Regions from separate parts of the Homo sapiens genome. Here all the other regions are linked to region 1. The links are contacts of gene promoters, found by promoter capture Hi-C in human tissues and cell types (Jung and others, 2019). All regions are on one chromosome and are shown on one strand. The core of a region is centred on a gene start or on the middle of the fragment in contact, and the rest is flanking DNA. Distances in the headings are between cores, read along the strand shown. Region 1 holds the start of SRGAP1 (SLIT-ROBO Rho GTPase activating protein 1). Region 2 overlaps C12orf56 (chromosome 12 open reading frame 56). Region 3 overlaps C12orf56 (chromosome 12 open reading frame 56). Region 4 has its middle 24 kb from the start of KICS2. Region 5 overlaps KICS2 (KICSTOR subunit 2). Region 6 overlaps KICS2 (KICSTOR subunit 2). Region 7 overlaps SRGAP1 (SLIT-ROBO Rho GTPase activating protein 1).

The links. Contacts are between HindIII fragments. The study calls those that stand out against the background at their distance.
Region 2: a contact is called between a fragment that was not itself captured here and the fragment with the promoter of SRGAP1 in region 1, in 1 of the 25 tissues and cell types used here (aorta).
Region 3: a fragment that was not itself captured here is called in contact with the fragment with the promoter of SRGAP1 in region 1 in 1 of the 25 tissues and cell types used here (aorta).
Region 4: a fragment that was not itself captured here is called in contact with the fragment with the promoter of SRGAP1 in region 1 in 12 of the 25 tissues and cell types used here (H1 embryonic stem cells, aorta, dorsolateral prefrontal cortex and 9 more).
Region 5: a fragment that was not itself captured here is called in contact with the fragment with the promoter of SRGAP1 in region 1 in 2 of the 25 tissues and cell types used here (adrenal gland and dorsolateral prefrontal cortex).
Region 6: a contact is called between a fragment that was not itself captured here and the fragment with the promoter of SRGAP1 in region 1, in 6 of the 25 tissues and cell types used here (H1 embryonic stem cells, aorta, heart left ventricle and 3 more).
Region 7: a contact is called between a fragment that was not itself captured here and the fragment with the promoter of SRGAP1 in region 1, in 1 of the 25 tissues and cell types used here (lymphoblastoid cells).

Annotation. Positions count from the first base shown.
Region 1 is chr12:63,842,223-63,846,576 of GRCh38, reverse strand. It overlaps SRGAP1 (SLIT-ROBO Rho GTPase activating protein 1), which reads right to left and starts at 1,877. Exons shown (of 22, transcript NM_020762.4): 1 at 1,694-1,877. The coding sequence starts at 1,760. RefSeq lists silencers at 2,035-2,294, 2,405-2,464, 2,525-2,944 and enhancers at 1,871-2,370, 2,371-2,872. The HindIII fragment of the contact is 18,473 bases long and covers 1-4,354 here.
Region 2 is chr12:64,313,066-64,317,419 of GRCh38, reverse strand. The region is part of intron 4 of C12orf56 (chromosome 12 open reading frame 56); the gene reads left to right. Among named protein-coding and RNA genes, the nearest start is that of C12orf56, 76 kb to the left of the region's middle. The HindIII fragment of the contact is 8,294 bases long and covers 1-4,354 here.
Region 3 is chr12:64,295,764-64,300,117 of GRCh38, reverse strand. All of the region lies in intron 6 of C12orf56 (chromosome 12 open reading frame 56), which reads left to right. Among named protein-coding and RNA genes, the nearest start is that of KICS2, 76 kb to the right of the region's middle. The HindIII fragment of the contact is 3,151 bases long and covers 544-3,694 here.
Region 4 is chr12:64,244,544-64,248,897 of GRCh38, reverse strand. No RefSeq gene overlaps it. Among named protein-coding and RNA genes, the nearest start is that of KICS2, 24 kb to the right of the region's middle. The HindIII fragment of the contact is 5,361 bases long and covers 1-4,354 here.
Region 5 is chr12:64,213,984-64,218,337 of GRCh38, reverse strand. KICS2 (KICSTOR subunit 2) reads left to right here. Exons shown (of 3, transcript NM_152440.5): 2 at 2,375-2,660. Among named protein-coding and RNA genes, the nearest start is that of KICS2, 6.1 kb to the left of the region's middle. RefSeq lists a silencer at 2,938-3,135. The HindIII fragment of the contact is 3,866 bases long and covers 1-3,789 here.
Region 6 is chr12:64,191,858-64,196,211 of GRCh38, reverse strand. It overlaps KICS2 (KICSTOR subunit 2), which reads left to right. Exons shown (of 3, transcript NM_152440.5): 3 at 1,554-4,354. The coding sequence ends at 2,370. Among named protein-coding and RNA genes, the nearest start is that of KICS2, 28 kb to the left of the region's middle. RefSeq lists enhancers at 1-383, 1,663-2,082. The HindIII fragment of the contact is 4,221 bases long and covers 1-4,029 here.
Region 7 is chr12:64,155,574-64,159,927 of GRCh38, reverse strand. It overlaps SRGAP1 (SLIT-ROBO Rho GTPase activating protein 1), which reads right to left. Exons shown (of 22, transcript NM_020762.4): 22 at 1-4,354. Among named protein-coding and RNA genes, the nearest start is that of KICS2, 65 kb to the left of the region's middle. The HindIII fragment of the contact is 6,714 bases long and covers 1-4,354 here.

The DNA of each region.
Region 1 (4,354 bases), core at 628-3,127:
CCGTTTGAATTTGATAGACACATTGCAACACATCCCATTTCGCTGATTTTCAAATAAGGACTTGATCACTGGCAAGTGACCTTACAGCAAACATAAAGAAATCAACATTTGGAAGTGCATTTGCCAATTAGTGCTCTAGGCGGCAGAAAAACCAGACCGCCACCCCTTGAAGACCTGCCACAAAGAGCCATGTGGAAAAACTGCACAGAGAAATGGTGGTTGTGAACAAGAGTACTGCCCTGGAATGAAAGGTTTTAGGCTATGTTGGACTCACTGAAAAAAGAAAGGTTAGTCTCATTAGAAAGTTTACCTGGCTCTAAGAAAATAATTACTTATCTGCTAACACAACTTCCATAGCAATGAAACAAGTTCCTGTAAGTATAAATTATCACAATTCCAAGCAGACAAAAATCTGTGTCTCCTGAACACATTATAGGGGTCAGCCTATAGATAACTCCATTATAGGGGTCCTCCTAAAGATAACCTAAGTTATCTTGCATATTGTGTCTGCAGTGTCCACAATGAGTTGGTCTGTATTCACACTGGATGATACAGGATTTCTCCACCAGGTCCTCTCACAGGACTCCAGGCATTTTTACAACTTGACCACACAAAAGAACACTCAGGCTGCTCCTCCCTTGCTCAAGGGAAGTACAGTAATGCCTCTCTCCGTAGCCCTTTCATAAGACTGTGCATAGATAAACACAGGTGTATACATAGCAATCTTTATGAACTTTGCATTGAATGTGTCAAAGAACAGTGGCGGTCCCAACATTCCATCCATTGTCTCAATCAGGAAAGCTACTCCTGAGACCTCAGGAAAGAGGAGGAAAAAATTCAAGTAACACATATGTTTACGAAACACTTCAGTAACAAAACAAAATACTTGTATTGGAGAGAAAATATATATATTTTTAATCACAAGGCATAGAAAGTAAAAATAATCAGCCTTAATTAGGTTTCCTTCATTAGTTGACAATGTAAATGGACTGAAACTACTACTCAAATATTCAAACCTTCATTTTACATGCAAGTGGCTTCCAGAAAATGATAAAGCAATATTCCCATGTGAGTGTGAAAGATGGCAATGAATTCTGGCCCATTATAAAGGAAGAGTCAGATTCCACTAGTCACTGCTTCGTTTAACTGCCAGGCTTTTAGGGAGCTATTTAATAAAAGGGGTCTCGCCCTAATAAATTGTGAGCGGTGTAAATAGGTGAGTGGTGTAAATATCTGAAATAGCCTGCACTCAATGAGGCTGTAGACCGCTTGGGGTTCACAGACTTTACAAAAATCATTCCGTAAAAAAATTACGTAGTGACAATCCTACCATTTAAAAAGAATAATGATGGTGATAATAATAGCTGGACAGGATCCTCCACTGCTGCCTGCTTCCCACATAAGTTGCCCAGCTGAAGGTGGTTAAGTTAAAGCCAGTTCTCTCCCCATTAGAGATGCGGGCTGGCAGCTGGCGGGGGAAGTCACCCAGTTTCCAGCTCCCCGTGGGTTTGACGGGACTGGGATTGCAACTGGGAACTAACTGGCTTGTAGGAAGCCCAGGTGGCTCAGACAGGGCTCGAGCTGTCCCCTCACCACCTTCCTCCCACGCAGACACCAAGTTAGATACGCAACTCCACGAGCACAATGACAAGAAGGCACACAAAAGGAGCAAGGCAGCCGCTCCCATCCTTACCTTTGACTTGACTTTCATACTCGGCTATGATCTCTTTGTCCTTCTTGAATCGGCTCGGGGTGGACATTATCCAGCTGTTCCGGGTTTGCTTTCAATGGGCAAGTTTTGTTCAGTGGTCACAACCCGTTCTCCTTGGAGAGGCAGAGTTGTACTCCCACACGCAGGCAATCCAGAGGCAGCGCCGACCCGAGGGAAGGGAGGAGGGAGAGGAGAAGTAGGAGGAGGAGGGGAAAAAGAGCGAGTAGAGAGGACTAGATTAGCCCGGGCGCTGGCACCATACTCTCGAAATTGAGCTCCGTCGGTAATCCCAGGGGATCCCCGGGGGAGAGGCCGGACGCGCAGGCAAACTCCAGCCAGCGAGTGGCGGGGGACGTCTCCCTGCCCACCTCGCCGGGAGCCCGGCCACTTCCTCTACGGCCGCTGGGCGGGCGCGGGGCTCGCGCCGGCGCTCCGCACCATTGTTCGAGACCCGCACCGGGCGCCCGGGACAGGGCCAGCGGCGGAGGGCAGGCGCTGGGAACGCGCCCAGCTCGGGCGCCACAACCCTCCCTTCCTGCCTCCAGCTGTCGGCTCCGGCGCTCAAGGGTCCCGCCCGGGCTGGGGATGCTGCTGCCACGGCCGCCGCTCCTCTGCCCGCAGACACTGCCGCTACAGCTCGGCAGGCGAAAGGAATCGCAGTCCTGACGCGAGTCCCCGCTGCTGCTGAGAGGGTGAAGGCGGCGACGCTCAGACGCGCCCTGGGCACAGCCCCGGCGGAGTTTAGGTCTCCAGAGCCGGCGCCGCGAGGGGCCTCTGCCTCCCTGGCCGCGGTGCGCCGAGGCTGCCTTTCTCTGCGTCCCCCTTTCCGCTGCTGCCCCCAGGAGGCCGCTAGTGACAGGCACACTCGCACACGCACGCGGGAGCCGCGCCCCCGGCGGCAGCAAAGTTGAGGGTGCGCACACGGCTCGCGCCTCGCGGGCGCCCGGCTAGCGATCTGCGGGCGGTGGCTCCTCGGGGCTCCGCCAGGCGGGGCCAGGCTCGCGGGAGCGGACCGCGCTCCGGCCTGTGCCCTTCTCCGTCCAAGCTCCCGCCCCTGCTCCGCTAGGAAACGCCTGGCTGGTCCGGGAAGATGGATGCCTCTTGTGGCCAACCGCAGCCCGGCCCCGCGCGCCGAGCCCAGGAGGCCGTGGGCGGCGCCCCCGGCACCTCCCTCCGCCGAGGCCCCGCACCTCCCTCCGCCGAAGCCCCGCTCCACCGCTAGCCGAGGTCGCGGCTCCGGCGGCAGGAAAACCCCTTCCTGACCTGAGGGACCGCCTTCTGGCTCTGGCGGGGGCTCTGGTGGGGCTTTTGCCAGAATCTAATGGGGAAGTCCAGAGTTGGATGTATCCATGACACAAAGGGATGTTACTCCGAGACGCTGGACCCCAATAGAAAAACTGAACACTGAATTGTGAATGACCTGGCTGTTAATCCAAAGAGCGCGAAGCTCTTCAATCGAGGCGGAGAAAAACACCCACCTTGAACACCATATCCTCTATTCCTACAGTAGATAGGGAAGCTAGGATGGTAGGAAAGCGATGGTATGGAAACACGTCACACTTAACGGCGTTGTTAGCTTATTTATTTACTAAACTCCAGATTTTATTCCAATTTTACCAATTTTTTCGACTAGTGTCATTTTTTCTGTTCCAAGATCCAACACAGGACACTACATTGCACTTAGTACTTTTACGGTTGTTTTTGTTTTTGTTTTTTGATTTTGTTTTTTGGGGGTTTTTTTTGAGACGGGGTCTCACTCTCGCCCAGGCTGGAGTGCAGGGGCACGAGCTCCGCTCACTGCAACCTCCGCCTCCCGGGTTCAAGTGATTCTCCTGGCTCAGCCTCCAGAGTAGGTGTGACTACAGGCGCCCGCCACCGTGCCTGGGTAATTTTTGTATCTTTAGTAGAAACAGGGTTTTGCCATGTTGGTCAGGCTGGTCTTGAACTCCTGACCTCAAGTGATCCGCTCACCTCGGCCTCCCAAAGTGGTAGGATTACAGGTGTGAGCCACGGCGCCCGGCCACGTTTTTAATAGATACCTTTTACAAGATCTATCGTGTCTAGTCTCTTTTTATTTTATTTGTTTGTTTGTTTTCATTTTAGTACAGACGGGGGTCTCCCTATGTTGTCCAGGCTGGTCTCAAACTCTAGTCTCTTTTTGAACAATATAACGAAGAATTTACCTTGCCATCTTTGCATGGTTCAGGTGTTGTGTTAAGTACTTTAAATCCATCCTTGCCAGCCTTTTAAATTTTTTTTTATTATTTTTACTTTTTTGTAGAGATGAAGCCTTGCTCTATGGCCCAGGCTGGTCTCAAACTCCTGGCCTCAAAAGATTCTGGCTGGGCACGGTGGTTTACACCAGTAATCCCAGCACTTTGGGAGGCCGAGGTGGGCAGATCACAAGGTCAAGAGTCCGAGACCAGCCTGGCCAACATGGTGAAACCCCATCTCTACTAAAAATATAAAACTTAGCCGGGCATGGTGGCATGTGCCTATAATCCCAGCTACTCAGGAGGCGGAGGCAGGAGAATCGCTTGAACCCAGGAGGTGGAGGTTGCAGTGAGCCAAGATTGCACCACTGCACTCCAGCCTGGGCGACAGAGGGAGACTCCTTCTCAAAAAAAAAAAAAAAAAAAAAAA
Region 2 (4,354 bases), core at 1,354-3,853, 470 kb before region 1:
AACTCCCATTTAGGGACCTTTTTGTTAGAATTCATTTAAAAAATAAGTAATTATTAAAAGAGTAATACAATCCCTTTATCTTCAGTAGTACATAATTTTTATTATTGATCTTTCAACATAATAATAATAATTATAAAGGGCTATTTCAGATAGAAGAAACTAGGAAGCCAGGGTTTTATAAACGGCTAAAAATTATGAAAAATTACAGGACAACCCTTAATTTTTTTCTCATACCACTGTTTGGAAGACTTCAAACATTTAAAATTCCTTTCTAAATTTTTAAATGGCTTTCTTTAAATTAAAAATGTAAACAAATTACAAATAGAGGAAAGCTCTGGTGTATTAAAAAAAGATCTCATATATTCTAATAGAAAAGCCAAAACTTACCTGACTTTAAAAAATCTATGTGAATACTTCAAAATAACTGTTTATGCTTCCCTGAATTGCCCAGCTTCAGGTTTTAGCAATACTTTTAAATTATGCAGCAGATGCATGGTTGGAGCATTCAGATTGGCGGACTCATTACCTGCTAAGCTATAAATAGTCTATGCAATAACAATAACTAATATCTATTGTTAATTTCCTACTAGAAAATAACAATAGAACGGAGCCTGATGCTTCATGGATATTAACTTATTTAATTTTTACAACAACCCTATGAGGTAGGACTGTTATTCCCATTTTATAGATGAGGAAATTGAGGCACAGAGAAATTAAATGATATGTGCAAAGTCACATAGCTAGTGTAGAGCTGGGATTTGAATCTAGGTAGTCTGATTTTTTTTTCTATGACCATTGAAATAAATGTGGGTGGAGGAAGACTATCTTTATGAGTTGGTAGACACTATCATTGAAAATAACGTTCTCTTAGCCAGGTGTGGTGTAGTAGCACCTATAGTACTAGTTACTCCAGAGGCTGAGACAGCAGGATCGTTTGAGCCCAGGAGTTAGAAGCTCTGCTGCACACTACTGCACTCCATCCTGGGCAATAAGCAAGACTCCATCTCTAAAATAAAAAGTAAGGCCAGGCGTGGTGCCTCATGCCCATAATCCCAGCACTTTCGGAGGCTGAAGTGGGTGGATCACCTGAGCTCAGGAATTAGAGACCAGCCTGGACAACAGAGATGGGTGAAATCCCATCTCTACAAAAAATACAAAAAAATTAGCCAGGAACATGGCCTGCATGTACTCGGGAGGCTGAGATGAGGATTACTTAAGCCTGGGAGGCGGAGGTTGCAGTGAGCCAAGATTGTGCCACTTGCACTCCAGCCTGTGTAATACAGTGAGACTCTGTCTGAAAAAAAATATATAAAATAAAATTAAAAAAATAAATAAGTTTTAAAAATTACAATAATGTTCTATCTCTTCCTTGAAAGATGGAAAATGAATAACCAAATATTTCACACGTAAGTGAGAAATCGGGTTAGAATTCATTCTACTAACAATAAGCTACTAGTTCAATATAAACACTTTTTTTTTTTTTTTTTTGAGGTGGAGTTTCACTCTTGTTGCCCAGGCTGGCTTGCAATGGTGCGATCTTGGCTCACTGCAACCTCTGCCTCCCGGGTTCAATTGATTCTCCTGCCTCAGCCTCTCCAGTAGCTGGGATTACAAGCATGCGCCACCATCCTCTTCTAATTTTTGTATTTTAGTAGAGACAGGGTTTCGCCATGTTGGCCAGGCTGGTCTTGAACTCCTGACTTCAGGTGATCTGCCTGCCTCGGCCTCCCAAAGTGCTAGGATTACAGGGGTGAGCCACTGTGCCCGGCCACATTACACATTTTAACTTTCTCTGTACTTTTAGATAAAATTAACCCAAACCATCTAATTAGAAATTATCAGCACTCATCCTGATTTTAAGAGTTTCCAAAGAGTTGAGCCTCCTTCAGTAATCCATTTTATATGTAACTTTCACCAAAAATAGTTACACGTAGGTTGTTTAGCGCCTTAAATTCTGTAAAGATGAAATGTGGTAATTCCTTGCCTTGTATACATTGTGAAGATAGCTGCTACAAAGCTAAATATGGGATACCCCAAATTAAAATTCTGGATTTAAGGAAAATGTAAATATTTGGAGAGGGAAGAAAGGCTGCTTTAAAAAAAAAAAAAAAAACGTAGAACAATGACAAAAGTAGTAAGAAAAAGCACATATCTCCCTTGCCACCATCCACCCACTACACCACTCTGATATTAAGCACAAGACAGGTTGGGTGGCTGAGGCAGTTGGATCACCTGAGGTCAGGAGTTTGAGACCAGCCTGGACAACATGGTGAAACCCCGTCTCTACTAAAAATACAAAAATTGGCTGGCCGTGGTGGTGGGCGCCTGGAATCCCAGTTACTCAGGAAGCTGAGGCAGGAGAATTGCTTGAACCTGGGAGGCGGAGGTTGCAGTTAGCCAAGATCGTGCCACTGCACTCCAGCCTGGGCAACAAGAGCTAAACTCCGTCTCAAAAAAAAAAAAAAAAAAAAAAAAAAAAAAAGCTGGCCGGATGCGGTGGCTCACTCCTGTAATCCCAGCACTTTGGGAGGCCGAGGCGGGCGGATCAGGAGGTCAGGAGATCGAGATCTTCCTGGCTAACACGGTGAAACCCCGTCTCTACTAAAAAATAGAAAAAATTAGCCGGGCGTGGTGGCGGGCGCCTATAGTCCCAGCTACTCGGGAGACTGAGGCAGGAGAATCGCTTGAACCTGGGAGGCGGATGTTGCCGTGAGCCGAGATGGCGCTACTGCACTCCAGACTGACAGAGCGAGACTCCGTCTCAAAAAAAAAAAAAGCTTGTCTGCAGTGTCAAATCAACAACATTTGAGAAATTCCTTCTGACCTGTCTTAAGCCTCAACATAAATAAAAGATTATTTAGAGAAATTGCTGAACACTGTATGACTATTTTGAGGACCCAGAATAAATGAGAAATGGCAACACTAAAGGTTTAAGGAAAAATAACTCCATTAATAAGGAAATAGTTAACAAAAGTGTTGTGTATCTATGCTATGGAATACTAAATAATCATTAAAAGAATTGATATTGGTTGGATGCAGTGGCTTATGCCTGTAATCCTAGCACTTTGGGAGGTTCAGAGGGGAGGATCGCTTGAGGCCAGGAGTTCAAGACCAGCCTGGTCAACATAGCAAGACGCCATCTCTACTAAAAAATAAAAAGTAAAAAATTGGCCTGGCAAGGTAGAACATGTCTGTAGTCCTAGCTATTCAGGAGGCTGAGGCAGGAGGACTGCTTGAGCTCAGGAGTTTGAGGCTGCAGTGAGGTATGATCATGCCACTGTACTCCAACCTGGGTGACAGAGTGAGACCCTGTCTCATAAGAAAAAAAAAAAATTGAAGTAAATCGGTAAATCTTTTTTTTTTTTTTTTTTTTTTTGAGACAGAGTTTTGCTCTTGTTGCCCAGGCTGGAGTGCAATGGTGTGATCTTGGCTCACGGCAACCTCTGCCTCCCAGGTTCAAGCGATTCTCCTGCCTCAGCCTCCCGAGTAGCTGGGATTACAGGCATGTGCCACCATGCCTGGCTAATTTTTGTATTATTAGTAGAGATGGGGTTTCACCATGTTGACCAGGCTTGTCTCGAACTCCTGACCTCGTGATCCGCCCACCTTGGCCTCCCAAAATGCTGGAATTACAGGTGTGAGCCACTGGGCCGGGCTGTAAATCGGTAAATCTATATACACAGACATGAAAAACCATCCACCATATATTAAGTTAAATCAAGTTCCAGATTAATATATGCGATATAATTTAGGATTAAATATATATTATAAAAATATATAAATACTATAAATTTATGTGTTTATAATTCATATGTCTTTATATGCCTGGAAGGACCTAAACCAAACAGACGATAGATACTTTTAAAAATTTTAGACACAAGGTCTTGCTCTGTTGCCCAGGCTGGAGTGTAGTGGCACAATCATAGCTCACTGCAGCCTCCAACTCCTGGACTCTTTTGATCCACCTGCCTCAGCCTCCGAAGTAGCTGAGACTACAGGTACAAGCCATGGTACCTGGCTTCATGATCAGACACTTTGCATAGTGGGATGGAAGGGGTAGGGAAAAACAGAGAATTTTATATTTTACTTTATCTAAACTGTGTGATTTTGATAAATAATTTCTTTCTTTCTTTCTTTCTTTCTTTTTTTTTTTTTTTTGAGACAGAGTCTCGCTCTGTTGCAGAGGCTGGAATGCAGTGGTGTGATCTCTGCTCACTGCAAGCTCCGCCCCCCGGGTTCATGCCATTCTCCTGCCTCAGCCTCCCGAGTAGCTGGGACTACAGGCACCTGCCACCATGCCCGGCTAATTTTTTTTGTATTTTTAGTAGAGATGGGGTTTCACAGTGTTAGCCAG
Region 3 (4,354 bases), core at 870-3,369, 450 kb before region 1:
ATGCCATTTTCTGCCTTTCCTGTCATGCCTAATGGGGAACTTTAGTACCTTCCTCCTTTTGATCTTCTCTGTCAATTCCATGCCATAGAACTTTCTTTGAAGTTTTATAATCTGCATTGTTCAATACAGCAGACACTAGCCACATGTGGCTATTAAGCACTTGAATGTGACTAGTGACTAAAAAAGTAAAACGTTAATTTTATTAAATTTACATTAATTTAAATAGACACTTGTGGGCAGTAGCTACCGAGTTGAACAATGTAGTTCTATGACATCTTTCATAGCACTTCCTCTTTAACAATTAACAGACAGTTTTCATGCCTAATCTGTGTGAGGCTTGGTGATAGGTATTAGAAATATAGCATGATTATGATACAGTTTCTACCATCGAGAATTAGCACAGATATCCTCCCTTTTACTATAGTGATTGGCACATTTTTCTTATTTATCTTAATATGCTAAAAGCTTCTTTAGGACAAGTATATGTCTTACTTATCTTTGTATTCTCCCTCAGGCCAAAACACAATGCATGCATATTCCAGGTGCTGTAAGTTATTCATACTGAATTGCAAATCTGTTCTCTTGTGAAATATTAACCTAATCCAATGTCTAAAAATGAAGCTTTCATGATCTGTTTTATACTTGAAAACACTGCAGCCATTATTTAATATAATATTCTTACCTGGGCTAAAACAAATCTTCTAATTCAGTTATCAAAAATGAAAGGCCAAAGTGAATGGAGAAGGAAATAATTCAGATAGGAAAAGGGGAAGTCAAATTGTCTCTGTTCACAGATGACATGATTGTATATTTAGAAAACCTCACCGTCTCAGCCCAAATCTCCTTAAGCTTATCAAAGCAACTTCAGCAAAGTCTCAGGATACGAAATCAATGCACAAAAATCACAAGCATTCCTATACACCAATAACAGACAAACAGAGAGCCAAATCATGAGTGAACTCCCATTCACAATTGCTACTAAGAGAATAAAATACCTAGGAATACAACTTACAAGGAATGTGAAGGACCTCTTCAAGGAGAACTACAAACCACTGCTCAAGGAAATAAGGGAGGACACAAACAAATGGAAAAACATTTCATGCTCATGGATAGGAAGAATCAATATCGTGAAAATGGCCATAACTGCCCAAAGTAATTTATAGATTCAATGCTATCCCCATCAAGCTACCTATTGACTTTCTCCACAGAATTGGAAAGAACTGCTTTAAAGTTCATATGGAACCAAAAAAGAGCCCGCATAGCCAAGACAATCCTAAGCATAAAGAACAAAGCTGGAGGCATCACACTACCTGACTTCAAACTATACTACAAGGCTACAGTAACCAAAAGAGCATGGTACTGGTACCAAAACAGACATATAGACCAATGGAACAGAACAGAGCCCTCAGAAATAACACCACACATCTACAACCATCTGATCTTTGACAAACCTGACACAAACAAGCAATGGGGAAAGGATTCCCTATTTAATAAATGGTGCTGGGAAAACTGGCTAGCCATATGCAGAAAACTGAAACTGGACCCCTTCCTTACACCTTATACAAAAATTAACTCAAGGTGGATTAAAGACTTAAACATAAGACCTAAAACCATAAAAGTCCTAGAAGAAAACCTAGGCAATACCATTCAGGACACAGGCATGGGCAAAGACTTCATATCTAAAACATCAAAAGCAATGGCAACAAAAGCCAAAATTGACAAATGGGATCTAATTAAACTAAAGAGCTTCTGCACAGCAAAAGAAACTATCATCAGAGTGAACAGACAACCTACAGAACGAGAGAAAATTTTTGCAATCTATCCATCTGACAAAGGGCTAATATCCAGAATCTACAAAGGACGTAAACAAATTTACAAGCAAAAAACAACCCCATCAAAAAGTGGGCAAAGGATATGAACAGACACTTCTCAAAAGAAGACATTTATGCAGCCAACAAACATGAAAAAAAGCTCATCATCACTGGTCATTAGAGAAATGCAAATCAAAACCACAATGAGATACCATCTCATGCCAGTTAGAATGGTGATCATTAAAAAGTCAGGAAACAACAGATGCTGGAGAGGATGTGGAGAAATAGGAATGCTTTTACACTGTTGGTGGGAGTGTAAATTAGTTCAACCATTGTGGAAGGCAGTGTGGCGATTCCACAAGGACCTAGAACTAGAAATACCATTTAACTCAGCAATCCCATTAGTGGGTATATACCCAAAGGATTATAAATCACGTTGCTATAAAGACACATGCACATGTATGTTTATTGCAGCACTATTCACAATAGCAAAGACTTGGAACCAACCCAAATGTCCATCAGTGATAGACTGGATTAAGAAAATGTGGCACATATACACCATGGAATACTATGCAGCCATAAAAAGATGAGTTCATGTCCTTTGCAGGGACATGGATGAAGCTGGAAACCATCATTCTCAGCAAACTAACACAAGAACAGAAAACCAAACATGTTCTGCATGTTCTCATTCATAAGTGGGAGTTGAACAATGAGAACACATGGACACAGGGAGGGGAACATCACACATTGGGGCCTGTCGGCGGACGGGGGAATAGGGGAGGGATAGCATTAAAAGAAATACCTAATGTGGCTGACGGGTTGATGGGTGCAGCAAACCACCATGGCATGTGTATAACAAAACTGCACATTCTGCACATGTACCCCAGAAATTAAAGTATAATAAAAAAAAGAAAAAAAAGTAAATGGGTAGTCTCTCTATTTGTGGTCTCTCTACACTTCAGTGGAGTCCCCCTTGGCCCTATCCCCAACCATGCTATCAAACCCAGTAGCCTTATGTTCTTCTGTCTAATCCACAGCCAAAATCTATCCTCAGATTTATTTTCACAAAATTAGCATATATGACTAATAAAAGTCAACATCCTTTAAGATTTTTTTATTTAAATTGTTATCATAGCCTTAAGCTAAAGCAGTGGTTTTTCAACTTTATGCTATATTTCTTGGAAAACATACGTTCTGTGAAGCTCCCTTAGAAACCCATACTGGGGTGGAGAGATTAGGGCCATTGTCTTAGTCTGTTTTGTGTTGCTATAACAGAGTATCACAAACTTGGTAATTTATAAGAATATGAATGTACTTCTGACAGCTCTGGAGGCAGGGAAGTCCAGTATCAAGGTGCTGGCATCTTGTGAGGGTCTTCTTGTTGTGTCATCCCATGAGAAGGCAGAGGGCAAAAGAGCATGCAAAAAAAAAAAAAAGGGTGGAAGGGGGCCAAACTCATCTTTTTATCAGAAACCCACTCCCACAATAATGACATTAATCCATTTATGAGGTCAGGAGCCTCATGACCCAATCAACCTCTTAAAGGTCTCGCCTCTCAACACTGTTGCATTGGGGATTAGTTTCTAAAACATGAACTTTGGGGGACACATTCAGACTACAGCATTCTGCTCTTGGCCCCAAAAATTCATGTCTTTTTTACATACAAAATACATTTATTCCATCCCAATAGCTCCAAAAATCTTAATTCATTCCAGCATCAACTCATAAGTCCAAATTACCAATTGTCATCTAAATCAGGTATGGGTGACACTCAAGGCAGGATTCATCCTGAGGCAAATTCCTCTCCAGTTGTCAGCCTGTAAATCAAGACAGGTTATCTACTTACAAAATACAGTGATGGGATGTGTGGAGGATAGACATTCCCATTCCAAAAGGAAGATATAAGCAAGAGGAAAGGGCCAAGTAAGTCCAAAACCCAACAGGGAAAATAACAGTGTCTTAAAGCTGGAGAATAATCTTTCACTCTTTCACTTAAGAAATGTCTAAGAAGTTTCAGACTTTCCCTACAGCTGTCCTCTTTCTCTGAGCCCCCACCAGCATCACCTTTAATCCTCCAATTATTGCAATCTAGGCTTTTTCTAGGTTGCTCCTCCAAATTCTTCGAGCCTCTATCCGTTAACCAATTCCAAAGTCACTTCCACATTTTTAGGTATTCCTTATAGCAACAATTCCACTTCTGGTACCAAAATCTGTATTAGAATTCTCCAGAGAGACAGAACCACTCAGTTCTCCAACTCACATGCCAGTCTCCTCTGGAAATACCTTCACAGACATAACAGAAATAATGCTTTACCAGTTCTCTAGGTACTCCTAATTTAGCCAAGTTTACACCTAAAATTAACCATCACAGGCATCTCTAATTTTTGGTTCCTGTAATAGGATGGAAAATTATACACATATATAATGTACATATTATGGATATAAAAATTACAGATACGCTATAATATAGAGTGATATATATTATAGATATAAAAATATATATTATATATAGTTTTCTCCCTCCCTTTTAAAATGAACTTTAT
Region 4 (4,354 bases), core at 1,053-3,552, 400 kb before region 1:
TAGCCATATAATGGAATATTATTTGGCAATAAAAAGGAATGAAGCATCCTAGCGAGAGCAATTAGACAAGAGAAAGAAATAAAGGGCATCCAAATCAATAAAGTGGGAGTCAAACTGTCGCTGTTTGCCAATGTTATAATCATATACCTAGAAAACCCCAAAGACTCCTCCAAAAAGCTCCTAGATCTGATAAATGAATTCAGTAAAGTTCCAGGATACAAAATCAATGAACACAAATCAGTAGCCCTGCTATACACCAACAGTGACCGAGCTAAGAATGAAGAATGCAACCCCTTTTACAATAGCTGCAAAAAAATAAAAATAAATAAAATAAAATACTGAGGAATATACCTAACCAAGGAGGTGAAAGACCTCTACAAGGAAAACTACAAAACAGTGCTGAAAGAAATCATAGATGACACAAATAGAAACACATCCCATGCTCATGGATGGGTTGAATCAATATTATGAAAATGACCATACTGCCAAAAGCAATCTATAAATTCAACACAATTCCCATCAAAATATCATTCTTCACAGAACTAGAAAAAAATCCTAAAATTCATATGAACCCCCCAAAAAAAGCCCACATAGCCAAAACAAGACTAAGCAAAAAGAACAAATCTGGAGGCATCACATTACCCAACTCCAAACTATACTATCAAGCTATAGTCACCGAAACAGCATGATACTGGCATAAAGATAGGTACAGAGACCAATGAAACAGCATAGAGAACCCGGAAATAAAGCCAAACACTTACAGCCAACTGATTTCAACAAAGAAAACAAAAACATAAAGTGGGGAAAAACACCCTAGTCAATAAATGGTGCTGGGATAATTGGCAAGCCACACATAGGAGAATGAAACTGGATCCTCATCTCTCACCTTATACAAAATCAACTCAAGATGGATCAAAGACTTAAATCTAAGACCTAAACCATAAAAATTCTTGAAGATAACATTGGAAAAACCCTTCTAGACATTGGCATAGGCAAGACTTCATGACCAAGAACCCAAAAGCGAATGGAACAAAAACAAAGATAAATAAAATGGAACTTAATTAAACCAGAAAGCTTCTGCACAGCGAAAGAAGCAGCAGAGTAAACAGAAAACCCACAGAGAGGGGAAAAATCTTTGCAAACTATCCAACCAAAGACTGATATCCAGAATATACAAGGAACTCAAACCAGTCAGCAAGAAAAAAACCAATCCCATGAAAATGGGCTAAGGGCATGAATAGACAATTCTCAAAAGAAGATATTCAAATGGCCAACAATCATATGAAAAAATGCTCAGCGTCACTAATTATCAGGGAAATGCAAATCAAAGCCACATGTGATACCACCTTACTCCTGCAAGAATGGCCATAATTTAAAAATAAAAAAATAATAGATGTTGGTGTGGATGTGGTGAAAGGGAAACACTTTTACACTGTTGATGGGAATGTAAACGAGTACAACTACTGTGAAAAACAGTGGAGATTCCCTAAAGAACTAAAAGTAGAACTACCATTTGATCCAGCAGTCCCACTACTGGGTATCTAGCCAGAGGAAAAGAAGTCATTATATGAAAGACACTTGCACACACATGTTTATAGCAGCACAATTCATAACTGCAAAAATATGGGACCAGACCAAATGTCCATCAATCAATGAGTGGATAAAATGTGATATATATATATATATAAAATGGAATACTACTCAGCCATAAAAATAAATGAAAGAATGGCATTTGCAACCTGGATGGAGTTGGAGGCCATTATTCTAAGTGAAGTAACTCAGGAATGGAAAACCAAATATCATATGTTCTTGCTTATAAGTGGGAGCTAAACTATGGGGATGCAAAGGCATAAGAATGATACAATGGGCTGGGTGCAGTGGTTCAAGACTGTAATCCCTGTACTTTGTGAGGCTGAGGCAGGTGAATCACCTGAGGTCAGGAGTTCAAGACCAGCCTGGCCAACATGGCAAAACCCCGTCTCTACTAAAAATACAAAAATTAGCCGGGCATAGTGGCGGGTGCCTATAATCCCAGCTACTCAGGAGGCTGAGGCAGAAGAATCGCTTGAACCCGGGAGGCAGAGGTTGCAGTGAGCCGAGATCGCACCACTGCACTCCAGACTGGGCAACAAGAGTGAAATTCTGTCTCAATAATAATAATAATAATAATAATACAATGAACTATGGAGACTCTGGGAGAAGCATGGGAGGTGGGGTGAGGAATGAAAGACTGCATATTGGGTACGATGTACACTGCTTGAGTGATGAGTGCACTAAAATCTCTGAAATCACCACTGAAGAACTTATCCCTGTATAACCAAATACGACCTGTTCCCCAAAAACCTACTGAAATAAAAAAACCACAATACAAAACAAAACAAAAAAGAATGAAGCATTCATGTGCTAGAACATGGATGAGTCTTGAAAACATTATGCTAAGTGAAAGAAGCCAGTCACAAAAAACCACATAGTGTATGACTCCATTTATAAGAAATGCCAGAATAGGCAAATCTATAAGGACAGAAAGTAGATTAGCAGTTACCTAGGGCTGGATGGTTGTGGGTTTTTTTGGGGAGGGAGTTGATTAAAACGTTATAAAATTGTAGTGATGGTTGCACAACTCAGTGAATATACTAAAAACCACTGAACTGCACACTTTAAAAGGGTGAATTGTATAGTATGTGAATTATATCTCAAATCAAGCTGCTGAAAAATAAACAACAGCGGGCTGTGAGCCAAAATTGTCCTGCAGGTGGTAGGTAGGTTGGCAACTTCTGTTGTGGATATATTCACGCAGGATGACAGATGAACTGATTCCTTTCAGAGGCCTGTTAGTGGATTCAGCTATTTGAGCTTGGAAGACTCACTTAAGGAGAGCTGGAAGTTGACTGTAATCAGAAAGTCCTTTGTTCTCAGGTCTTGCTGGTGAAAGGATCTATCTTATAGATGTTTGACATAAGCAATAATGAACTCCTCACCACCTGCTGGTTTGTAATTACAGCCACAAATTCAGCCCAGGAACTCAGGTACATTCAGACTCATTGTGGTTTCTAGTACTGGGTTCTTGCATAGCTACTTGGTTGCAAGGACCTTCACTTGGTCTCAGCCACACTTCCCAGACAAGCAATCATTTTATCCATCTCTCTTCTTCTAGACCATTTGGTTAGTGTCTTAGTCCACTCAAGCTGCTATCACAAAATGCCACAGACTGGGTGGCTTATCCAAAACAAATATTTCTCACAGTTTTGAGGAGCTGCAAGGGAAGTTCAAGATCGAGGCACTGGCAGATTTGGTGTCTGGTGAGGGCCTGCTTCCTGGTTCATAGATGGCTGTCCTCTCACTGTGTCTTCATATAGTGGAAGTGGCCAGGGAGCTCTCTGGAGTCTCATATAAGGGCACTAATCCCACTTTTGAGGGCTGTGCCCACATGAATCACCTCTTGAAGGCCACACCTCCAAATACAAGCACATTGGGGGTCAGGTTTCAACATATGATTTTTGGGGAGACGTAAACATTCAGTCTATAGTGGCTAGTCAGCTTCAATTCCTAACCGTCTCAGATTTGAAAAACAAAGCTTCATCTCACTGTCCTTTTGGAGAGCTAATATGAGGGGCTAAGGGTAGAGTTTAATTTAAATTTCCTTCTTACAATCAGAGTCCTCGCCAAGGCAACTGCTTAGTTTTCGTACTGCACTTGGGATCTTACACATTCATTCCACAAATACATATTTTATGGCTACTATGCATTGGGCACTATTCCAGGTGCTAGAGATATAGTAGTAAACAAGAAATAAAAATCCCTGCCTTTGTGGAGTTTATATTTTATTTTGTTTTTGAGATAGAGTCTTGCTCTGTTGCCCAGGCTGGAGTGTAGTGCAGTAGTGCAATCTCAGCTTACTGCAACCTCTGACTCCTGGGTTCAATCGATTCTCCTGCCTCAGCCTCCCAAATAACTGGAATTACAGGCATGCACCACCACACCTGGCTAATTTTTGTATTTTTAGTAGGGACGAGGTTTTCCCATGTTGGCCAGGCTGGTCTCGACCTCCTGATCTCAGGTGATCTGCCCTCCTCAGCCTCCCAAAGTGCTGGGATTACAGGTGTGAGCCACTGAGCCCAGCTGGAGTTTATATTTTAATAAGATGGAGTTAACCCTTCTTTCATCTGCTTCTTTCCATAATGAAATGCTATACTTTATTATCATGAGTTAGTCTTGAATCAGAGTCCTGTGCTCCATGAAAGGTCATTTCACCATTTCCTCTAGGCAGAATAGAGTCAGACTCATCCTGGACTGAACTGTTAAGTCCTGTGAGTTCTTTCTACAGCATAGTAACTAACCGGCACATTGTGCACAT
Region 5 (4,354 bases), core at 607-3,106, 370 kb before region 1:
GGGGTTTGAAACCAAGTCTTTCAGACCTCCACAGCTTTTAGGTTTTATATGATACTCTTATTACCCTCCTAAGCCGAGAGGTTTTATCCTAGATGTGGGCACAGAGGTCTATTTATGTTGTACCCTTCACTGTACAAAATCAGCAGAGCTAAACTGAATATGGGCATGGGAGGAAGGCAAACCCTGTAGGGAACAGTTCCGTATGAGATATTGGTGTCACATCTGGTCCACCTGTACCCATATGGACTTTAATTGTATTAGTTGGAGAAATGATGTGCCAGCTACTCAATCTGTTTGGAACAAGCTTGTCCAACCTGTGGCCTGCGGGCCACATGCAGTCCAGGATGGCTTTGAATGCGGCCCAACACAAATTCATAAACTAACTTTCTTTCTTTCTCTTTCTTTCTTCCTTCCTTCCTTCCTTTCTTCTTTTCTTTTCTTTCCTTTGGTTTCCTTTCCTTTCTTTTCTTTTCTTTCCTTTCCTTTTCTTCCTTCCTTCCTTCTTTCTTTTCTTTTCTTTTCTTCTTTTCTTTTCTTTTGATGGAGTCTTGCTCTGTTGCCCAGGCTGGAGTGCAGTGGCACGATTTCGGCTCGCTGCAGCCTCTGCCTCCCTGGTTCAAGCGATTCTCCTACCTCAGCCTCCCGAGTAGCTGGGATTATAGGCACCCACCACCATGCCTGGCTAATTGTTTTGTATTTTTAGTACAGACGGGGTTTCACCATGTTGGCCAGGCTGGTGTTGAACTCCTGACCTCGGGTGATCCTCCCGCCTCAGCCTCCCAAAGTGCTGGTATTACAGGCATGAGCCACCATGTCTGGCTAAACTTTCTTAAACAATATGAGATTTTTTGTGCGTTTTTTTTTTTTTCCTCATCAGCTATGGTTAGTGTTAGCATATTTTATATGTGCCCCAAGACAATTCTTCTTCTTCTAATGTGGCCCAGGGAAGCCAAAAGATTGAACACCCCTGGTTTAGACAGTATATTGGAAAAACACTTTTCAAAGTATCAGTAGTTTGTCTGGGGTGTCAGAAATAAGTAGGGTAACCAACTGTTCAAAATTTTCCCAGGCCTGAGGGATTTCTAGGATGTGGGACTTTGTTTTAAAACCTTATAAAGATTTCCTGAGAAGCTAGACTTCTAGTGCTAAAACCTGGAAAGTCCTGGGTAAACTGGGACAAGTTGGTTACCTAGTAGTAAGGGAAGGAAGATTCATTTCTTGAAACATAAACCGAGCAATGAATTAAAATCAATATTGTAAAATGGTTCATTTATTAAGAGGATATTTTACAAATGCCTTGATACATTTTTATTCCTAATTACAGGTATATGTTTAGAATAGTAAATTCATTGAAGAGAAAATTTAAACTCTTGTCCATCTCTTGAGTTTTTTTATATATTCCTAGAAATCACTGTTTTAAACCTGCCCTGTTTCTTTTTTTCTTTTCATTTTCCTAATATCTTGCCTCTGGCCCTTTGGTGGGTGCAGAATTGCTTAAGGGAACATCCATGAAGCTGGCTCCATAATTAGAAATATAATTGCTCATGTGTACATACAGAAGTGAGTAAATGATATCTATGCTATTTGATCCTTTTTGGCTATATAAAGGTGTTTTTGGTTTTATTTTTTGCTGATTTCCTTTGGAATCCCTTGGTTACAGCAGCAGTTATTTATAATTGGTTCCTGGTCTTAATAATTCACAATGTGGTGCTTATTATTTATAACATATAGTGTCAACCTTGTCAAGAGTGCTAAGATTTTCTTTATTCTCCTGGGATCCCAGTAGTCTGTTTTCTTGCATAGAGGGAATATATGTGTATGTATTCAATTTTCTGGTATGATCTAAAAGATTAGATTCAAAGGAAAATACAACTCTAAAGCAGAAACAAAAAATCATGACACAGCAGGAATAAAAATAGTGTTTCATAATTTGTGTGCTCTTTTGCTTTGAATACATCTATGTGAAAGGTAGGCTTTTTAGTTCCAGTTGGTGTTATTTGCTAGGTTAATTATGCTCTGAAGTAAATCTGAATCCTCATTGAATTGGGGTGGGTGAGAATTGGTACATGGGTAAGCAAATTGTACACAGGTCCATTGCTACAGTAATGAATTCTATCAGGTATTCATTTAGCTTATTCCTTAGGGAAATTATGAATCAAAGTATTTATGATTATCATAAAGTATTTATGATAATCATAAAGTATTTATGATTATCATAAAGTATTTATATCTCAATCATAGACAGAGAATATGGTAGATGAAAACTTACTGAGCTCAATGGGTTTGGATTCTTTGCTTTTGCATGTTGGTAGGTGTTTGGTACTTACGGTTTCTCCTTCTTACTTGTCATGTGCTTATGTTGTTTGCCTACCAGGGGGCCAGTCTTTCTTCAGCAGGAAGGATTCCATCCGCACCATCTATACTTCATTGCATAATGAGCTGAAGAAGGTGGTGACTGGCCGTGGTGCCCTGGGTGGGACTGCTCCTCACGTGGAAGAACTCCTTTCCCACCTGTCAGAGCAGCTCTGCTTCTTTGTTCAGGCTCGGATGGAGATAGCAGACTTCTATGAGAAGATGTACACCCTCAGCACACAGAAGTTCATCAATGCTGAAGAGCTCGTTGGCCTTTTGGATGCCATCATGAAAAAATACAGCTCCAGGTCAGTGTGGGGAGGAGGGAGGGAGAAAGCGTGGCTGTCCTATCAATCCCACACAAGCTCAGAGTTTTTCTCCACACTCTTATGAAAATCTGTGATGAAATAACTGTGAAATAAATAACTGGATTACATTTTATACATATTCATTAATCAACAGGTATACATTAGGCACCTTCATTGGTCTTATTAACACCACACGGCTGCTAAGCAATAGCAAAAGACCGAGAATGAAGTAATCGTAAAACTTGTATTATAACCGATTTTGCTGCTTAGGAAAGAGTTCACACAACAAGAGAATTGTATATAAAATAATAGGAATTTCTTTTTTCTGGAAACCAAATTGTAACATAGTAAAATAATATGAAAATACGTATTATTGTATTTTCTGTTGCCCAGGCTGGAGTGCAGTAGCATGATCTCAGCTCACTGCAACCTCCACCTCCTGGGTTCAAGCAATTCTCCTGCCTCAGCCTCCTGAGTAGCTGGGATTATAGGTACACGCCACACCCAGCTAATTTTTGTATTTTTTTTTTTTTTAGTAGAGACGGGGTCTCACCATATTGGCCGGGCTGGTCTTGAACTCCTGACCTCAAGTGATCCACCCGTCTTCACCTCCCAAAGTGCTGGGATTACAGGCCTGAGCCAATGCACCTGGCTGAAAATAATGTGAATTTTTAACAAATTATTATTCAAATAAATATTGTCCCTTTTAAAGTAATCAGTGATTTATCTGCTTGTTCCTTTGAACAAGCCATTCTTTAACATGTGTTGGAAACTCCTTTGTAATTGCTTTTAGAGTTTCTGCCATACAGTTTAGATTTCATTTTAAGTATTCTTAGTGGAGGAGGGCATCCACTAAGTGCCTGTAATCTCCTGGGTTCAAGTGATTTTCCTGCCTCAGCCTCCTGCGTAGCTGAGATTACAGGCACATGCCACTATGCCTGGCTAATTTTTTTTGTATTTTTAGTAGAGATGGGGTTTCATCATGTTGGTCAGGCTGGTCTCGAACTCCTGACCTTGTGATCTCCCTGTCTTGGCCTCCCAAAGTGCTGGGATTACAGGTATGAGCCACCATGCCCAGCCGAGTTGAGCTTTTAACGGCAGGTAGGATTTCGAAAGCAACTGTAGGAAAGAAGACGGCAGGTGTTTTGAGATGAGAGGATATTTCAGAATACAAAAAGGCTTCAGGGTTTTGGTACTTGCAATTCTTTCTCTCTTATAAGTTCTTACTGTAGTTATCTTCTCATCTTTAAGTCTTGGTTCAAACAGAGAAGGCTTCTCTCACTATCCTACCAAAACTATTCTGCTTTTAGTCACTATCTTATTCTCCTGATTTATTGCCATCTGAAGTTACTGTTGTTTGTTTAGGGTGTTTTTTCTTTCCTTTTCTCAAAAACTAGAATGTGAGCTCCATCACAGCTGCTGTGCTTTTAGCACCTGGAACAGAACCTAGCACATAGTAGATGCTGAATAGATGTTTGCTGAATAAATGAGTGAATAGTTGTGTTCCAGGTTGAAAATTTGTACTTAATTTGGTAAGCAGTGGGGAACCATGAAAAGTTTTGAACCAGGAGTATCATGTTCTCATCTTAGACTAATTACTGTGGCACTGTGTGTGCAATGGGATGGTGAAGGGAGAGGTTACAGGAGAAAAGGTTAGTTTAGCAGGCTATGATGGTAGCCTAATAGGCAGAAGG
Region 6 (4,354 bases), core at 670-3,169, 350 kb before region 1:
AAGCTGTCAGACAGGGACATTTAAGTCTGCAGAGGTTACTGCTGTCTTTTTGTGTGTCTGTGCCCTGCCCCCAGAGGTGGAGCCTACAGAGGCAGGCAGGCCTCCTTGAGCTGTGGTGGGCTCCACCCAGTTGGAGCTGCCCGCTGCTTTGTTTACCTAATCAAGCCTGGGCAATGGCGGGCGCCCCTCCCCCAGCCTCGCTGCCGCCTTGCAGTTTGATCTCAGACTGCTGTGCTAGCAATCAGCGAGATTCCGTGGGCATAGGACCCTCCAAGCCAGGTGTGGGATATAATCTCGTGGTGCGCCGTTTTTTAAGTCAGTCAGAAAAGCGCAGTATTCGGGTGGGAGTGACCCGATTTTCCAGGTGCGTCCGTCACCCCTTTCTTTGACTCGGAAAGGGAACTCCCTGACCCCTTGCGCTTCCCAGGTGAGGCAATGCCTCGCCCTGCTTCGGCTCGCGCACGGTGCGTGCACCCACTGGCCTGCGCCCACTGTCTGGCACTCCCTAGTGAGATGAACCCGGTACCTCAGATGGAAATGCAGAAATCACCCGTCTTCTGCGTTGCTCATGCTGGGAGCTGTAGACCGGAGCTGTTCCTATTCGGCCATCTTGGCTCCTCCCTCCCCACACCATTTTGTTTTTAACTATAATTAATATGAAGGGAATTTGGGAACCAGGATTGAATAAGGGCTGTCTGATAAATGCTCTATTTCTTTAATAAACATTTATTTTATCTACTGTGTTTTCCATATAAGCTTATAGTAGGTACTGTCATCTGCAAGATAGGCTTAATACCTCATAGCATTACTGTGAACATTAAATGAGTTTATATGTGTCATCTACACATTCAACAGATGTTTTAGTGACTTTTTTTGTTTTACCTCTGCCTCTTTAGGACCACACTCTGAAAAGAGCATGCCTTGTTTCAATGATTGTTTTAGTCATACAATTGCCAGAATAAATAAAATACACTCAGAAAGAATTATACCTAATTTAGGCCAGGCATGGTGGCCCACACCTGTAATCCCAGCGCTTTGGAAGGCCAAGGTGGGAAGATCACTTAGAGTTTGAAACCAGCCTGGGCAACATAGGGAGACCTTGTCTCTACAGAAAATGGAGTGTGTGCCTATGTTCTCAGCTGCTTGGGATGCTAAGGCAAGAGGCTCACTTGAGCCCAGGAACTGAGCTGCAGTGAGCCATGATTGTACAATTGCACTCCAGCCTGGGTGACAGAGCAAGAACCAGTCTAAAATAAATAAATAAAAAAAAAAAAATGAATTGTAGCTAATTTGGTATTCCTGTTGTTGAAAGGAAAAGTGGCCACTACTCTCAGGCTATTTCCACAGGAGAATATGATGTTGACATAATTTTGAAATGGTGAAATTATATCAGAATTTTAAAATAAATCAACATGTAGTTCCTCCATCTTTTCTTCCCCTGTCCTGAAGCATAATATTATGTTTGGCCATTTTGTTGCTTTGTGGTTAGAAAAATGTCAGTGTGGCAAGTGAAGTAACATTTCCACTTATCTCTATTTCCCTCTCCCCTTTAGATTTCACCACCCAATCCTCAGTCCTTTGGAAAGCAGTTTCCAGCTGGAAGTTGACGTCCTGTGTCATCTCCTGAAAGCCCAGGCCCAGGTCTCAGAGTGGAAGTTCCTCCCATCTCTGGTTAATTTACACAGTGCGCACACCAAACTGCAGACGTGGGGCCAGATCTTTGAGAAACAGCGGGAGACCAAGAAACATCTGTTTGGAGGGCAGTCTCAGAAGGCCGTGCAGCCTCCACACCTTTTCCTTTGGCTGATGAAACTCAAAAACATGCTTCTTGCCAAGTTTAGCTTTTACTTTCATGAGGCTCTGAGCCGACAAACGACTGCTTCAGAAATGAAAACGTTGACAGCAAAAGCTAACCCAGACTTTTTTGGAAAGATTTCCAGCTTCATCAGAAAATATGATGCTGCCAATGTGTCCTTAATTTTTGACAACAGAGGTTCTGAGAGTTTTCAGGGTCATGGTTATCACCACCCCCATTCCTACAGAGAGGCCCCCAAGGGTGTGGACCAGTATCCAGCTGTAGTGTCTCTGCCCAGCGACAGGCCAGTCATGCACTGGCCCAATGTCATCATGATCATGACGGACCGCACATCTGATCTGAACAGCTTGGAGAAAGTGGTCCACTTCTATGATGACAAAGTTCAGAGTACCTACTTCCTAACCCGCCCGGAACCTCACTTTACCATTGTCATCATTTTTGAGTCAAAGAAATCTGAGAGAGACTCCCACTTTATTTCCTTCCTCAATGAGGTCTCACTTGCCCTTAAGAACCCCAAAGTGTTTGCAAGTCTGAAACCTGGAGCCAAAGGTTAGCAGGTGATTTGCGTGGAGGGGTTTCAAGACTAGAAACTGTTCTTAATTGCCCTAATGATCTACGGTGGTCTGTGAATAGAGTTTACATCCATTCATGCCTCTTTCAGAACTAAATTAAAGACAAATCCTCCCTGTGTTGCACACTTTATAAGCAATTAAGGCCAATTGAATTAAGTTTCCAAAGAGTAATCTAGGAAGTGGTCATGGGCTACCATGTGTCTCCATGGTACAGCAAAGTAGTTTCAGTATTTTCCCCTATTTTGCTATATTTCTTGTAGATTGAATATTTATTGGGCTTTTTTTTTTCCCATATGTTTTTCTGTTGTTCTAAACATTGTGTTCTACTGCAATTCCAAACAGCCTCTCTGTTTCCCTCCTTCTTGGAAGAGTAATAGGGATGAGATATTAAATGGCCTTTTTAGAATTAAGAACTATATGTTTTCTGTCTCATAAATTAGCAAATGAATATGGAGTTAGTAGATTTATGATTCTGATCTACAAATTAACATTTTTGATGCCAAAATTAGGGTCTTGGTAAGAAATTTCTATCAGTTATTGAAACTGAAAGTGAGTCAGATTGGTAGCATGACGTAAGGTTTTAACAGTTCAGAAGATCCTCATGGCAGCTTTAATAGCCATGGGTTCTTTTGGGGTAATGTACACACCTAACTGCATTTGTTTTGACTTCTTTAATGTTTGAATGTTTCACTCTGTTGTAAAGTCAGCATAAGCCATCATGTGGGCTTTCTTCATTCTTCAGCATATTATCCGCTTCGCTTTCTGTTTATCACTTTTCTGCTGAAATGTACATGTTTGGCTCTACTCCTTGGTTATTTTTAGGCTTAAAAGCATGCAGTCGGTTTTTCAGCCACTTTTAGATACTCATGCAACATAGCCTACTTTTATAAAATCAAAATGAAGGTCTTCATACGCTGTACTTGCTAAAAATCAACTGTGCGCTTGAAAGACCTCTTCATAGTTGAGTAATCACCTCAGTACTTAAGCACTTCTGAACTTGGGTTTCATGCCTGCCCCCCACAAATTATGTTTAGAAGCAGCACTGCATCTTAGCACATGCTGCCTTATTTCTTTCCTTCGGCAGGTGTTCATGGGAAGTAGGTGGATCAGTGAAGGCATAATGGGCTGTGGAGACCTTCACTTCTAGATTATTGATTCAAAATAAAAAGAAGCCACAAAGAGTAATTGAGTTGTTACTGGTTTGATGGTTCCTTTGAAGCTTGTGTGAAATGTAATGGTCATATTCGTCTTTTTTCCCATGATTGTGTGGAGCCACTGTTTTACTGGGTGTCCACAGCAGGTATGCCAGCAACATCAGCAGAGACCAGAGAGCCCCTCAGAGTCCATGTAGGAAGCCTGCCCACCTAGGGTGGACTGCCTGGCAGAAGAAAGAAGAACCGGCCAGGCACGGTGGCACACGCCTGTAATCCCAGTACTTTGGGAGGCTGAGACGCGTGGATCACTTGAGGTCAGGAGTTCGAGATCAGCGTGGCCAACATGGTGAAACCCCATCTCTACTAAAAATACAAAAGTTGGCCGGTTGTAGTGACGGGTGACTGTAATCCCAGTTACTCTGGAGGCTGAGGCAGGAGAATTGCTTGAACCTGGGAGGTGGAGGATGCAGTGAGCTGAGACTGTGCAGCTGCACTCCAGCCTGGGTGAAAGAGCGAGACCTGTCTCAAAAAAAAAAAAAGAAGAAGAAGAACCAAGAATCTACTGGCCTATTTTTTATTTTCTGGGAAGAACATGTGTTTTTCCTTTTTTTTTTTTTTTTTTTTTGAGACAGGGTCTTGTCTGTTTTCCAGGCTGGAGTACAGTGGCACAATCACAACTCACTGCAGCCTCAACCTCCTGGGCTCAAGTGATCCTCCCACATCAGCATCCCGAGTAGGTGGGATTACAGGCATGAGCCATCACACCTGGGTCTCACTATGTTGCTCGGGCTGGACTCAAACTCCTGGACTCA
Region 7 (4,354 bases), core at 811-3,310, 310 kb before region 1:
TTGTATGCATCAGGAAAGGCTACATTATGCTGTGGCATAACTATGCAACCTAATTCTCAATGTCAGTAGCTTGATATAACAGTAGTTTATTTCCTGCTGTTGTAGAGTCCACTCGAGTCCAAACAATTCTCCAGGATGACCATCCTCCATGCAGTGACTTAACAGTCTGTGCTTTTCTAGCATTACAGCTCTGCCATCTTAACGGGAGGCTTCTATGAGTGCCATGGCAGGGGAAGAGACTGCTTGGAAAGCTTGAATCCTCTCTCATACGTTATTGTTATTATTTTTTGAGACAGGATCTCACTCTGTCACCCAGGCTGAAGTGCAGAGGTATGATCTCAGCTCACTGCAGCGTCTACCTCCCAGGCTCAAGCGATCCTTTCACTTCAGCCTCCCAAGTAGCTGGGATCACAGTCACACACCACCACAACCAGCTACTGTTTGTTTGTTTGTTTGTTTGTTGAGATGGAGTTTCACTTTTGTTGCCCAGGTTGGAGTGCAATGGTGCAATCTTGGCTCACTGCAACCTCCGCTTCCTGGGTTAAAGCAAGTCTCCTGCCTCAGCCTCCTGAGTAGCTGGGATTACAGGCATGCGCCACCACGCCTGGCTAATTTTGTATTTTTAGTAGAGATGGGGTTTCACCATGTTGGTCAGGTTGGTCCTGAACTCCTGACCTCAAGTGATCCACCCACCTCGGCCTTCTAAAGTTCTGGGATTACAGGTGTGAACCACCGTGCCTGCCCTACAGCTAGTTTTTTAAAAAACTGTTTTGTAGGGATGGGGTCTTGCTATGTTGCCCAGGCTGGTCTTGAACTCCTAGGCTCAAGCGATCCTCCCACTTAGCCTCCCAAAGTGCTGGGATTACAGGTGCGAGCCAGTGTGCCTAGCACTCTTTTATATTTTAACCCACAAGTGACACAGATCATTTTTGCTCACAACCCACTGGCTAGATTTAGTACATAGATCCACTGAATGATGTGAATGGTGGGGCAGAGAGGGTTCTTATCATTTTTTCCTCAACCTGACCTCTGATTACTGTTTGACATGTTCCAAATGCTCCGTAAGTTGTCAAGGCACATGATATTCATGCATTTTCATTGGGATTTTTCATTTTTATTAGGTTGGTGCAAAAGTAATTGCTTTTTTTTTCTTCTTAAGATGGAGTCTCACCCTGTCACCCAGGCTGGAGTGCAGTGGTGCGATCTTGGCTCACTGCAACGTCCACCTCCCGGGTTCAAGTGATACTTCTGCCTCAGCCTCCCGAGTAGCTGGGACTACAGGTGCACGCCACCATGCCCGGCTAATTTTCGTATCATTAGTAGAGACGGGGTTTCACCATATTGGCCAGGCTGGTCTCAAACTCCTGACCTCATAATCCTAATTATTTACTAGACTTAAATGAAGTTACATTTTTATCAAAGCATAATCCAATCAATACTGATTTTAATTTAATTCTATGTCAACTAAGAGGGTAGACTTTAGCACCCGATGTGTTGGGTTTGAATCCCTGGTTTTTCTAGATGAATCTCCTTCAAAAGCAATTGGGTCTTAAACTTTTCATATACTTGAAATCACAATCCATGAAGTTGCTTTAGTATTTCATCCCTGACAAACCAGAAATGAGAAATTTTTAAGTTTTTGGAATAAAGGACAAATACAAAGCAGGAAATAGTTTTAATTTAGAAACATCTAATCCTAGATAATTTAGTAACATTGATTATAGCACAATTCTTGAGCACTAACTATGCACCAGGCAGTGTTTAATTGCTCTGGGCTCAAGCAATCCTCTTGCCTCAGCCTCCCAAATTGTGGGGATTATAGGCGTGAGCCACTGTGCCCGGCCCTGGGTTCTTTTTCTTGCATTATAGGAAGATGACATTTCCTGGCCTCCCTTGCCATGTGACTTGGACATGTACAGTAGTGATTCATGTCTCCTCCATACCAAGACAGAAAACCTCACATCATTGCAAGTGCTTTCTCTTCCTCTTCATGGTGGCCACGTACTAAGGTGGCAGCAACAAAAAAAATGGAAGGAGCCCAGAACCCTGAGTCACCTGCCCGATCCACACCAAGTTGTGATGTGAAGGAGAAATTCAGCTTGATTGTGTTACTGAGTTTGGGGGGTTGTTTGTTACAGCAGCTAGCATCAGTTATCTCTTGTGAAATCACACAGCTAACAATTGAGCCAGTATCTGACCTAGATCTATTGCCTACAGAGCCCCACATTTAACTACTATTATCTGGCCTCTTTATTGCCCCCACACACTTGAAATATAAATTTTTAAAGACATTTTATTCTTTTTTCTATCCAGAATTTATTGAATCCTGATCATTTTTTCCTTAATGTTGATTTTGTAGACTCATTTCCAGGAAGAACAATGTCAGGCAGAGAGAAGGAATTGAAAGAGTATTTTTAATAAATTTGTACATGTTAATATAATTTACTTATTTGCAATTCTCATAGCTATACGATATTCTATCCCATTTCCAGTGTGGCAGCGACAAAAAAATGGAAGGAGCCTAGAACCCTGAGTCACCTACCTGACCCACACCAGGCTATGATGTGAAGGAGAAATACAGCTTGATTGTGTTACTGAGTTTGGGGGGTTGTTTGTTACAGCAGCTAGCATCAATTACTCTCATACAGATGTGTAAACAGATACTTGCACTATAGTGTTTTAGGCCCTGCTTCAGCTCTTCCTACAGTGTCAGACATATGGTAACCCTCATGAGTTATTTGTTCAGTAAATGATGAATTTAGAGGTAGACACATCCCTTTGTTACAGTGGGGGTCTGAAGGAGTGTTGAGGGGTGGGAAAGCCACCTCACTCTATGGGAAGGCGTGTGTACTATCGCTGATCTTTCCATGTAACACCCTTTCTCCTGCCAAGAATGCCCCCTTTTTTTTTTAGAAGTGCAGCTACCATATCAAACCATCCGCTTTCTGGTCCCAAAGCATGAGCAGTGCAGGCCTAGCTGTTAAGGTCTCTCAGGTCAGATAATTTTATGCCTTATTCCCCCTATCACTTCTTCAGAGAAGGTAATCTTTCCTAGAGAAATGTGTTCTTTCGCCATTGACCCCTGGCAGTTGGTAACATTTTCACCAGCCTCCTCCTATTAAACTGCAGTGATGCAGCAGCAGCCCAAAGCCATAGAAAACATGGCAAATGTGATTTTCCATGTGTACCAACACTCATTGCTGAGCCCACTTTCCTTGAGGCCCTAACCGTGCACGTTCAGATAGATGGCTTATTATTCCCTGTTGTACTCGGTGTAATAAGGCTAGATTAATAGATTTAACTTCTATAAATATTCATTTATTTTATCATTTCCTTTTAGCTTTGCCTCTAACAAAACCCCTAATCTTGGGGTCAGGGCACCTAGAAACGTGCTCATACCCTTTCATCCTGTAGATGAGTACCCTTGGGTATCCATCACAAGGAATAGGATGATAGAAAATGAGTAACATATGCAGAGATTCAGAGTATTTGCTACTAAAAGAGCAAAAACACTGGAAATGGGATAGAATATCATATAGCTATGAAAATTGCAAATAAGTAAATCATATTAACATCTACAAATTTATTAAAAATATTCATTCAATTCCTTCTCTCCACCTGACATTGTTCTTCCTGCAAATGAGTCTACAAAATCAACATTAAGGAAAAAATAATCAGGATTCAATAAATTCTGATGAAGACAAAAAAGAATAAAATGTCTTTAAAAATTTATATTTCAAGTGTGTGGAGCAATAAGGAGGCAAGATAACAGTAGTTAAACGTGCGGCTCTGTAGGCAATAGATCTAGGTCCAGATACTGGCTCAATTGTTAGCTGTGTGATTTTACAAGAGATAATTTCTTTAAACCTCAGCTTTTGTTTGTTTGTTTTAATCTGAAAAATGGGGATAATAATGATTCCGGTCTTACAGGACTAAATCCGATAATATGAAAGCAGTTAGCACAGTGCTTGGCACATAGAAAATATTTAACTCAGCCAGGCGTGGTGGCTCATGCCTGTAATGCCAACAGTTTGGGAGACCGAGGCGGGTGGATCACCTGAGGTCAGGAGTTCAAGACCAGCCTGGCCAACATGGCGAAACCCCGGCTGTACTAAAAATACAAAAAAATTAGCTGGGTGTGGTTGTGCGCACTTGTAGTCCCAGCTGCTCTGGAGGCTGAGGCAGGAGAATCGCTTGAAACCGGGAGGCAGAGGTTGCGGTGAGCCGAGGTCGTGGTGAGCCGAGGTCGCGCCACTGCACTCCAGCCTGGGAGACGGAGCGGGACTACGTCTCAAAAAAAACAAAGCAAACAAACAAACATAAAAAATATTTAACAAGCCTGAACTTGTTTATT